Regions from separate parts of the Homo sapiens genome. Here all the other regions are linked to region 1. The links are contacts of gene promoters, found by promoter capture Hi-C in blood cells and fetal thymus (Javierre and others, 2016). All regions are on one chromosome and are shown on one strand. Each heading gives the region's core, a stretch centred on a gene start or on the middle of the fragment in contact. The rest is flanking DNA. Distances are from core to core; before and after follow the strand shown. Region 1 holds the start of TSPAN5 (tetraspanin 5). Region 2 overlaps EIF4E (eukaryotic translation initiation factor 4E). Region 3 overlaps LOC105377343 (a long non-coding RNA gene). Region 4 overlaps TSPAN5 (tetraspanin 5).

The links. The method cuts DNA at HindIII sites, captures the fragments that hold promoters and counts their contacts. A CHiCAGO score of 5 or more calls a contact.
Region 2: a contact is called between a fragment that was not itself captured here and the fragment with the promoter of TSPAN5 in region 1, in 2 of 17 cell types (erythroblasts and activated CD4 T cells). The highest score is 5.8, in erythroblasts.
Region 3: a contact is called between a fragment that was not itself captured here and the fragment with the promoter of TSPAN5 in region 1, in 1 of 17 cell types (activated CD4 T cells). The highest score is 5.4, in activated CD4 T cells.
Region 4: a contact is called between a fragment that was not itself captured here and the fragment with the promoter of TSPAN5 in region 1, in 2 of 17 cell types (endothelial precursors and activated CD4 T cells). The highest score is 9.6, in endothelial precursors.

The regions. Positions count from the first base shown.
Region 1 is chr4:98,657,242-98,660,134 of GRCh38, forward strand. TSPAN5 (tetraspanin 5) reads right to left here and starts at 1,370. Exons shown (of 8, transcript NM_005723.4): 1 at 905-1,370. The coding sequence starts at 985. It overlaps TSPAN5-DT (TSPAN5 divergent transcript), which reads left to right and starts at 1,661. Exons shown (of 3, transcript NR_148380.1): 1 at 1,661-1,781. It overlaps LOC112267901 (a long non-coding RNA gene), which reads left to right and starts at 1,482. Exons shown (of 3, transcript XR_939016.3): 1 at 1,482-1,631. RefSeq lists silencers at 935-1,094, 1,348-1,527. The HindIII fragment of the contact is 4,978 bases long and covers 1-2,010 here.
Region 2 is chr4:98,899,032-98,901,924 of GRCh38, forward strand. EIF4E (eukaryotic translation initiation factor 4E) reads right to left here. Exons shown (of 7, transcript NM_001968.5): 2 at 2,845-2,893. Among named protein-coding and RNA genes, the nearest start is that of EIF4E, 29 kb to the right of the region's middle. The HindIII fragment of the contact is 2,911 bases long and covers 1-2,837 here.
Region 3 is chr4:98,831,600-98,834,492 of GRCh38, forward strand. The region is part of intron 2 of LOC105377343 (a long non-coding RNA gene); the gene reads right to left. Among named protein-coding and RNA genes, the nearest start is that of EIF4E, 96 kb to the right of the region's middle. The HindIII fragment of the contact is 2,140 bases long and covers 380-2,519 here.
Region 4 is chr4:98,521,382-98,524,274 of GRCh38, forward strand. All of the region lies in intron 1 of TSPAN5 (tetraspanin 5), which reads right to left. Among named protein-coding and RNA genes, the nearest start is that of TSPAN5, 140 kb to the right of the region's middle. The HindIII fragment of the contact is 1,131 bases long and covers 866-1,996 here.

The DNA.
Region 1 (2,893 bases), core at 120-2,619:
GCCTAATTACAATAGGTTCCCAACACATTGCAGTCCCAAGCAGAGCATCATTTGAATCTTGTGTTAAAGCATTTGCTCTCTCGGTTCCCCAATAAAACATGCCTCGCACACCTTCTCCTTTGCATTTCTACAAAGGTTCCCCCAAACGGCCCGCTCTGTGTCACTCCTTTAAAAATGAGGACGTGGGGCAGGAACACACTGAAATATATGTTGACGGTGACTTATTATCCTGACGATGATATATACATACAAATAAATCCCTCTACCCCGCACCCCCACTGACCAGTCCATTACGCACAGGGAGCGCTTTCCAGCTGAAGAGGAGAGCGTGCAGGAAACGTTATTTACGTGCAATTACAGGACCATATACCACGGCATCTGCATCCTACACAAAGCCCGAGATGGTGCAAGAAGATACACGCTGAGCATGGCACAGACCAGCCGCGGCAACACGGAGCCAAGCCCTCGTCCAATCAGATCGTTGTTAGAAGGTGGACCTCAGGGTCGGCCGTGCCCGATTAGCCTTCCCTATTATGACACCACGCTCTGCCCAACATCTATATCCCACCGAGAGCAAATCCAATTCGTGTGGTTGCTCATTTCTCAAACTGCCGAACCCTTTCTTTTATCTGCATCCCTGCTATTCGTTCCTCAAAAAGCCACCAGAAGGCCTCGGTGCCCCCTTTCCGCCTCGATTTCTCTTTTCACCTCTTCCCATTCCTCGAAAGGATTAAATGTTTATCTCTCCAACGCGCAAGCTGGAAAGGCGGAAGGCGAATGCCTCTATGCTGCTCCGGCAAGCGCCTGCGGGGCTGCGAAAAGTAAAGGCAACGAACAACGTGGGGGAAATCGTCGCGAATCGATCGGCCACAATAGTTGGAATCCCAGGAGCGCTCCAACTTACCCAAAATATGACATTGAAGCCAAATATGAAGTATTTGATGCAACAACTGACTTCAGGACCCTTGTAGTGCTTCCCGGACATCCTCTGGGTTCATGAAGACACTTGCCCCGGCAGCCCGAGTTTGGAGCTCCGAAGCACCGTTGCTCGGAGCAGCCCGGCGGGGAGCAGGAGCTCAGGGACACCGCACGGGGCCGCGGCGCTGGCGGCCTGGGCTCAGCCGCGCGGGGACCGACCGGCGGAGAGCGGCTCCCGCACCTCCAGCCCCTCGCGCGCCGAGGCCGCCGGAGCCGGGGTGGCCGCGAGAAAGCAGGGAAGCCGCGCGCTGCAAGCTCAAGCCTCGCCGACGCTAGCCCCGAACACAAAGCGAGCGCCCGCGTCCGTGCGCCAGGCGGTCGGTCCGTCGGTTCGTCCCCGGGCTTCGGGCAAAGGCGGCCGCGGCAGATGCTGGTGGAGACGCCGCTCGCTTGCTCGCCCGCCCGTTCGCGCGCGCCCTCCCACCCCTCGCTCCGCCCGCCTCTCGCTCCGCCCGCCCGGCCGGCTGCTCCTCCGCCCGCGCCGCCCGCAGCTCCGCCCGCCGCCCAAGCCTTGGCTAGGCGCGCGCGCGCACGGGGTCGGGCGCTCCCGGGCGGCGGTGGCACCACGTAGCCGCCTCCTTCCACCGCTCGCTTTATCCCCGCCCCTTCTCGGGCCAACCCCAAGCGCCGCTGACCCCGAACGTCGCTGCGGGGTAGGTAGGGGGTGGGAGGGTGGAGGACCGCAGGCGAGAGGGAGAAGGAAGGGCGCCCGGGGAGCAGGCTGGCAGAGTGACCGGGATTGATGAGCGGCGCAGCTCTGGAGGGACGCGGGCGAGAGGGTCGCTCCTCGGGGAGAGGGCTGGGTGAGTGAGGACCTGCGAGCCACCCCCGACACCCCTTCCAGGGTAGCCACACTGGCGCCCCCTCCTCCACAACAGGCTTATGTGGCTAGAGAAGATGCGATGCCACTGGACAGGGAAGGAAAGTCGTCGTGGACTTCGCTGAATGGAAAAGGGGGTAGTTGGGGAAGGTGGAGAAAAGAGCCACGGGAAGTGGGAGGAAAGGATGAAGGGATGGGACGTTGAAAAGGAAAGCTTCCTGAATCCCTGTGTGACTCTAACCCAACCTCCCCACCTACCGGAGAAATGGGTTTTATCCTAGAAATGGGGACGAGGAAAAAGAGATGGCTCAAGGGAGTCCTGGCCCGGGATGCGATCCTCGCCCTAGGGTCTATTGCAACCACACAAACCCGGACAGCGCACGCTCCCCCCTACCCCGACAGAATAGTGCCTAAGAAACCTGCTTGCCTCCTAACTCTAGGAAGGAATCCACAACGGATTCCAGGGAGGTCTTCTGGGGAATCTGAATTGGGTTTTTGGATCACGAACCATTAAGCTTTTGAACTCTGGGGAAGAATAGAACAGGTGGCTGGAAATTGTTTTAGAACCCTACCTGAGCAGGTGTGCTCATTAGTTGCTTATCCGCCCTCCTCCTGGAGCACTTTCATAGGTGTTGGCAAAGCAGGTACCAGTATTTCACGGAAGGAGAAGGAAGAACCGCCCAGGACTGTGTATAAATGTCTATGGGAATATTTTTAAGGATTCAAAAGGCTAGAAGGAGGTGAGATCAAAAAATTTTTCCAGCACCACCCAGTGCAACCCGATCCTGGACACAGAAATCTAAAAGATGATACTTAAATACTTGAGTTTGAGAGCCTCTAGTTATAAGGTTTCCTACGTAACAACCTCTCACTTTTCTCAAAAACTGGCTAGTTGACAACCGGCAGTCAAGTTTTGGCTAGTCAAGAAGCTACTTTTTCCTGCAATAAACCACATTTAGAGATAGTACTGGGCTTCAGCAGGATTGAGGCTATATTGAGGTCGCAAGTATGAACGAGGTACCCACAGAGATGGGAGGGCCAGGAGATCCTACTCATTCAGTACCTCAGAAGCTATGACACGGGATAACAGTAGCT
Region 2 (2,893 bases), core at 132-2,631, 240 kb after region 1:
CTACATGAAAATTAAAGACCTCTAAAAAAAAAAAAACCATACAATTCCACAGACAATGTTAGAAGACAAATGATATGGATAACCTGTTTCTTTCTGACTTAATACTCCTCCAACTTCCCTGCCTTGGGTGAGTTAGCACTCTAATATAAAATGCTTGGAAATAAACTTGAAAAGATATTCCATAACTTGTTAGCTTGAAAGTAGGGGAAAAAAAAGATAATCCAAAAGAAAAAAAATAGAAGAACTGAATAATCTGTCCTCAGATAAAAACCACAAATCATCAATATGAAAATATTTTGAAACTTCAATTTTAAAATGCAAATTGAAAATACTGAAATTGTTTTCCCAAATCAGACTGGGACCAATCTGATTGGCAACAACTTAAAAGACTAATCACATGAGTTAGCAAGGATATAGAAACCAGGAACTCTCAAACTGTTAAGTCTAAGCCAATAAAACAGAATAATGTGGCAGTATCTGCGCAAAGGTTGTTAAAGGGTAATCTTTGTTCTAGGAGATCTGAAATTTTACCCTATATATTCACACAAGTGCACAATTATGTAAGGATGTAAATTACAGCACTGTGTGTAAAAAGAAAAATCTATACAGCCATTAATGTAAACCTAATAAAATATATGGTGGTATATCAATATAATGCAAGACGGTGGTTTAAAACAATGAGGTAAAATATGCACATACAAACAGAAAAGTCAACTGTATAGACGTATGTATTAAAAAGTATACATATGTGCATTTAATACTTCTGGAATACAAACCAAATTTAACATTGACTACTCTGGGGAGTGAAGAAAGTAAAATGCAAGAAGTAAATAATGAGAAAACTGCCAAAATTGGAGCCATAAAACATAGTATTTTTCCAAATGATACTTGCTATTTTACACAAAAAGTAGAATTTATAGAGAAACTGAAGTCCCCAGAGACTTCATTTTAAGATTTAAACTTTTTTTTTTTTTTTAAACTGATGAGGACACTTAAGAATCCCTTCTTAGACTCCATTCAAGCTGTGAGGGATATATGCCTTGTTTACTTCTCCCCACAATAAAAGTGACACCAAGAACTAGGTTCACAGACAGCTAGAAGATATACAGTTTGTTTCATATCACTGAAAAAAATGAAAAAAAAATGTGGGTTTTGGTGCTACTATTAGGTTAAACTATATAAGACTGCCTCTAACGAATTGTTCAACCTAATACATGTGGTACATTGCTTCCCTGAGGAAGGATTTTATCCTTTATAGACTGTTTGACCTCTGATGTCCCACTAGCTGAGAATCTCCATTGTCTAAAAAACTGATTTGTTCCTCACTGGAGGATATACTGAACCAAAGGGTCTCCTATGAGAAAACTGCATACAGCATATTTGAACTATTTATTTCAGTAGGTCTTCCATGATGAATAAAGGAAACATTTAAAAAAATTGAGATCATAAAAAAATTTTAATAAATGAAACAATTATAAATAGACTTGTGGACTCTTTTAAGTAGAGAGTGAATGGTCTGCCCTAAAAAAAGTAAATAAAAACAAAAAAAGACAAGAAATGAACTGAAATACTTCAAGAACCTCAGAAGTTAATTCCAATTTACTTTCCTCTAGATTGTTACAATGTTTCTGAACTGCCATTTTCTTCCCACCATCAGCATTCAGTGAACTCAAGTTAATTCTCATATACCCCAGAAAATAAATAAAAACAAACCTACTGGAAAGGAGTGGGAAGAGTTGGGAAAAGCCATATAATGAACTAATACTCAATTTCCTGTTACACTATTAACTATGAAAACTTAACTAATTTTAATCTGTCCCCTTTTCTAGTCTCTCACTTACAAACCAACCAACCTTCAAACTCCACATTCCCTGGCTCTCGTTTCTCATTCTCAGTCCAACTTCAAGTCACCTGTTCTTACTCTATACATCTGTATATCTCCTATTCACTCTTCAAACTGCCCTAATCTCTTTTTCCATGTTTTATGGAACTACTCTATGGAACCTTACTAAAAAACTTTTTCCCAAGTCAGCACGGACTTTTTTAAAAGTGTTCAATCCAATGGATATTTTGACATCTTGCTTCATTTGACCTTTTTAGCACATGTGCTGTAAACCACCCTATCTTAGAATAAACCACCTTCTTGGTTTCCATGACCACCACTGTCTCTTTTTTTTTTTTTTGAGATGGAGTTTCGCTCTTGTTGCCCAGGCTGGCAGGCAATGGCGCGATCTCAGTTCACTGCAACCTGCACCTCCTGGGTTCAAGCAATTATCTCACCTCAGCCTCCCGAGCAGCTGGGATTACAGGCGTCTGCCACCATACCCAGCTAATTTTTGTATTTTTTAGTAGAGACGGGGTTTCACCATGTTGGCCAGGTTGGTCTCAAACTCCTGACCTCAGGTGATCCGCCCGCCTCCGCCTCCGCCTCCGCCTCCTGAAGTGCTGGGTTTACAGGCGTGAGCCACCGCGTTGGGCGACCACCACTGTCTTTGTATGTCCATCCTTCATAGGCATTCTTCTTCAACAAAAGCCTCCTATATGATGCTAGTATCCCCGGTCTTTGTCCTGAGTCAAGTTCACTTCTCCTTAAGGGAACTTATTTACTAATGTGGCTTCCATTATGACCAATACTTTTCAAACTAATCTCTCACATAGCTCCTTTTGAACTCAAGACTCACACATAAAACTGTCTGCTGGTCATGGGTCATCCAAGTGAAAATAGAACCCTCAACCTTAGCATATCTAAAACTAGTCTCATAATCTAACTTTCCCTTCAAACTTGCCCCATTCACAATTTACCTTGTGGCCTAACTCAGAAAACCTAGGTGTTAGAAAGCTTACCTGTTCTGTAGGGGATGTTTAATATAGTGTTCTGGGTTAGCAACCTCCT
Region 3 (2,893 bases), core at 200-2,699, 170 kb after region 1:
ATCTCCTAGATGGAGAGCAAGATATTTAGTACACCATCACTTAATTTTTTAAAGGAAAGGAGGGGAAAATTACAAGTGTCTATATCTCTGTGTCTATATACATTGTGGTTGATAGAAAACAAAGAATGGCAATGGGAATTCAAAATATTACTTTTATTATTGATAAAGCTCATGTCAGAGAACACAACTCAGGTATGCGCCAACAGTAGATTCCCCAGTACTAAACCCAAGAACTAGGCAGTCTCATTCACTTGGGCTGGGCCCCCACAACCCTCCCCATGTGAGGGCCACTCTTGTCCATGCTTAAACATGATTGGAGAGCAAAAAGTCTGTTTGCTGGAGTCACCTTGCTCCAAAAAGGAAGGGCACGAAATAACTAAGCTTCGTGCACCAATTTTTCTGCCACCCTCATCAATCATATAACTCATTATTTTCTGAGGAGAGGAGAAAGGGATGGGGGCCGAGGCCAGGAGAGTTAGGGAAAAAACACTTTTCAGGTAAACCTTGTGGATGAACAAAAGAAGTCCTTCCCCAGCCCCTTCCCCAAGAGAATAGACAAGAAACTGGAAACTCTGAAGGCCTCTGGCAACAGGCACTAGATGACTGGGGGCGTGGACAGAAGGAGGCCATTTACTGGGTTGCCTTTTCCATTTTTGAAATTTTGAACCAGAGGACTCTATTTATATTGAAATATAAATAAAAATATTTCCAAATGATTATGTGCAGATAATTAAGAGCTGTAAGGAAAGAATAAAGGAAAAATATTGAATTCATGTATCATTTGCTTCATGATGAAATGAATGGAATTTTACCTAACTTGATATAATTGGAAAATGTTTCCAAAACACAGGTAACCTACCCAGAAAGTATAGTTGATCCAGCCATGTTTTTGCTCCTTCTGCATGAAATGTATTGTCTGCCCATCAAGAGACCACAGATGGGGGAGCCAGGTGCAATGGCTCATACCTGTAATCCCAACACTTTGGGAAGCCAAGGTGGGAGGATCACTTGAAGACAGGAGTTAGAAACCAGCGTGGACAACATAGGAGATCTTGTCTCCACAAAATATTTTAAAATCAGCTGGGCATGGTGGCACGCACCTGTAGTCCCAACTACTCAGGAGGCTGAGGCAGGAAGATTGCTTGGGCTGAGGAGTTTGAGGCTGCAATGAGGTATGATTACGCCACTGCACTCTAGCCTGGGTGACAAAGTGAGACTCTGTTTCAAAACAAAAAGAAAGAGAGCATAAATGAGGTTGAAGAAAGTAGCTACAGGCTGGATCTGTGAAAAACCCAGAATCTAGAAGAGAAGGCAATATGATCAGTAAAATGCCTTCTCAGCACGGGGGACTCATAACATGTGGGCAAGGGTGCTCTGGGTTGAGAGCTCATGTTGACCAACATTGATAATGTTAAAGAATGTCTTCTCCATACTCTGAGAGTCGCTTCTCCTTCAGGGCTGGAGTTGGTCATATAGGTGTGTTTGCTCACGCAGAAGGGGCAAAATGAACTTGTGTGGGTCCCCATTTTGTGCCTCTTCAGACTGACTTCTTCTTTGCCTCTTGGACATTGACAAATGGAGAAACTGAGATATAGCTCAGTAGCTCTCACCTTGACTCTGCTATTGAAGACCAGAGAAATCTAGACTTTTATGACTACTCCCAGATTTTACATATATATATATACATATATATATACACACACACACACAAATAATCTATTATATATATATATATACACACAAACAAATAATCTAGGAGTAGTCATAAAACCCGTGTGTGTGTGTGTGTGTGTGTGTGTGTGTGTGTGTGTGTGTGTATAGGTTTGTTTATTTTTTGCTAATTTTCATACCCTTTTTTATTCATGTTCCCATACTTCTGATAGACTCTGAAGTGTCAAACCAGGCATATTTTTAAAACAGGTACTATAAATAGGTCATGAGAGGCAGCCAAGGAAAATGTCACCAACTCACAGTGGCACTGAAAGAAACATTTCAAAGAATAATTGACTCAAAGTGCTTCCTTGCTGAGCATGCAAAGGCTGAGGCAATGGTGAAAGAATGTAATGTGCCAAATTCAAAAAGGGCATTTAGGACAACCATTCTACCTTGTTCTATCCCTCGTCCCCTGACTTCCTCCCATGGAGAAATCAGCTTCTCCCTGACTGGCTCTGCTGGATTTAAAAAAGTGTTGTGTAATTTTTATTCTGAGTTTTCCAATTAAGGTAATGGATTCAGGAGAATAGATTGTGTAACAATGAAGGAAAAATGAGAAAGAAAAGGGTGTTAAGAGAAAGAAACAACATAAAAGAAATAGCAAGCAATATTGAAAACAGAACCAACCAATCAACAAACATAACCCAACTTTTCTCCCAAACACTGCAGCTTAGAGGTGGCCTCAGGAGATCTATTGCCTAGGGCGGGACATTTGTCTCCCAGGACCTCGGCCTTCCAGGCAAGGAGGCTCTTCACACCTGATTGAAACAGTGGCTGGTCCCTGGACCAGAGGAGTTGTGTGGTGAAGCTTTCCCTAATCTACGTGAAACTGATGAAAAAGGGAGCAATGTAGCTGACCTTTTATGAAGCTAACATTCAAATAACTCTCCAGAGTCTCATTCTGTTGCCCAGGCTGGAGTGCCGTGGGGAGATCTTGACTCACTGCAACCTCCGCCTCCTGTGCTCAAGCGATTCTCCTGCCTCAGCCTCCCAAATAACTGGGATTATAGGAGCAGCTAATTTTTGAATTTTACCACCCCTCCCAGCTAAGTTTTGAATTTTTAGTAGAGACAGGGTTTCGTCATGTTGGCCAGGCAGGTTTCAAACTCCTGACCTAAAGTGACCCGCCTTCCTCGGCCTCCCCAAGTGCTGGGATTACAGGCATGAGCCACCATGCCCA
Region 4 (2,893 bases), core at 181-2,680, 140 kb before region 1:
TTCCTCTCCTAGAATACAACTCACTATGTATCACCTGGCCCTCTCTGCACCACCCTGTAAGAATTAGGGCTCAGGGAAAGTGTACAAAAATATTGATCCTCTGGTTCCTGGCATTGCTGTGATTAATAAAGTCCTATGTGTCTGCCCCAGCAGTGTGATGCCTTCTGCCAGGATTTGTGACACTGTGGCAGGATAACTTGTTTGCTGGCATGCAGGGTGAAATCTCAGACCCTTCACAGTCCTTGACACTCAGTGTTATTGTTCCACAGAAGAGTTTGGTGTCTTAGATTGTTCTCCAGCCCCCTGGCTTGCTTCAGCTTGCCCTGTGGGATGTCAGCACCATCAGAGCTGAGGAGGCTGCTGAGATATTAATAGCTATTTTTAAAACACTTATCACAAATGCTCTCTCTATGCCTATATATCTGTGTGTGTTTTTGAATTTTATTTTGTTTTTGTGGGTTCTGTTTTTTTTGTTTGTTTCACTGATGAAATCTTTCTTTTCTAAGAAACACAGGACATTTATACATTTAAAGAGAGGAAAAGTGACTGTTATTAAACAGATGTCTGTGCTACAGTCAATATATCATTCTTTCATTTTAAAGTGTTCTAATTTAACTGTAAATATTAAAAGTTCCTAAGAAATAACTCCATGTTTCAGGTACATTTTAGTAAACATCTTGCCTTTGAAATAATTGAAATGCCAGGAGAATGTAACTTCAAAGCTTCAGACATTGTACAGAATGAGCTGAATGGTGTTTCCTACACTTACACGCTCCCGTGGCCTATGTGCCCAACCCCCACATTAGGCAAATCCACTACAGAAAACTATACTCAGAGTACACTGACTTCTTGTTAGAATTCAGAAAGCTTCTTTAAAATGAAACCTGATTGATAACATTAGCAACAAAGTCATCCAAGAAGTCATCTCTGAGAACCTCAAGTCCACGCTGAAACAGGAAGTGAATTTTCTCCTGGTGGGCCTTTTGAAATAAACGCTCCATCTTAAAAATGCCAGGACCCTTCTTAATAGCTATCATAGAAGTTATACCTCCGATCAAATCAACCATTTACAAAAAGAATGATGACAGGTGCCTTCACTTCAAGCTCTGTTTTCATATTTCCATACCCATGTTTAAAATCCCCTTAATAGTTGCACTGAACTGACGTCATCTTTCTGATGCTTTATAAATTCAATCAAAACCTAAAACATCTTGAGAGATGAATGCAGGATGCATGGGGCATAATCAGGAGATCCCAATCCATTGATTATCATGTGAAAGAAGGCACAGAGGCAATTAGTCCTTTGTTGTGGATGACAAATAACCTCCACATAAAATGTTCTATACACTGAGGCATCTTTGATCCATCTTACTGGCTCAGTGACTCACAAAGGAGGAAGGAGGGGGGATGTCTGAAAACAAAAGGGCAGCCTGACGACACCATTTAGTTATTTATTCTGTATGTTCAGCTCAGTTTTTCCTCTTTCCAACTTTTCATGATACTATAAAAAGAAATGGAATGGATTCCTTTCAACCAAGAACATCAGCACTGCATACTAAGAAGTAAAGTACTGGCTTAACACAGAGCCCACAGAAGCCACCGAATATCATCCTCTCTCCTTAGTTAGGTATTTTTTACAAGGAAAATGGGTTTTGACAAATCATTCTTTTATATGTTCTTTTATATAAGACTTTAATGCACAGACTCTTGGAAATTAATTTACATATAAGACAAACTATTCACAGCTTCAGGAGAGAAGGCTGGGTTCTCAACAAGCACTGCCTTGGAAACTATCCATGTGTGTGCACTCTGGAATTTTCCTTTTCTGTTAGAATTGTTTGGAAGAGTCTCCTGATGAACAACAGCATGAGGGATGTGAATAAGCGTCCCTTATTTCCTCTGGTTTAAAGACATCCATAACTTTTTGTTCTCTGAATAAAAGTGGCATGACATTAAAGTGAGTTGAAGATATAAAAGCATGTGCTAGAGATCAGCAAGCTTCTAAAATGATTTACTAATTCAGATGAATATTAAAAAATCAACATGGAAATAAAAATTATGGTTTTTTTTTGAGACAGAGTCTCCGTCTGTTGCCCAGGCTGGAGTGCAGAGGCGCGTGCTCGGCTCACTGCAACCTCTGCCTCCCGGGTTCAAGTGATTCTTTTGCCTCAGCCTCTTGAATAGCTGGGATTACAGGTGTGCACCACCACACCTGGCTAATTTTTGTATTTTTTAGTAGAGACAAGGTTTCGCCATGTTGGCCAGGCTGGTCAACATGAACTCTTGGCCTCAAGTGATCCACCTGCCTCGGCCTCCCAAAGTGCTGGGATTACAGGCATAAGCCACCGTGCCCAGCTTTTATCTTTAAAAATTAAGAGGACTGCTAATTTCCTGAAGTTAAAACAGAAAGTATAAAGGGACCATACAAATTATAAATAGTGACACAGCCAAATGAGCCTGACCTCTGATGACAAACCTTGGTTCAAATCTGGGCCCCAGCATTTAATGGATGTGGCCTGGGCAAGCTGACACTCTCAATTTTCTCTCCCATAAATACAGACTATTGCCTAGCATTCACATAGCATTGATATGAGGATCAATGAGTTAAGGTATGTGTTTTATGTATAGTAGGCACTCAATAAACACACTATTATTGCCATTAAAAGTGTAATTAAAAAGTCTCTTACCTAAGCACAATATAAGGTCACTTTTCAGATAACAAAAAGAAACTATCACATCATCTGTGCATTATTCAGTTAATCTAGCAGATTTGTATCAGAACCGAAATAGCATATACTATGGGGAAAAAAGATTGCAAAGAGGACCTAAAATCCTTTTTTCCTTTTGCAAGAAACTTCTTTTCATTTTTGATACAAGATTTCATTTAAAGCTG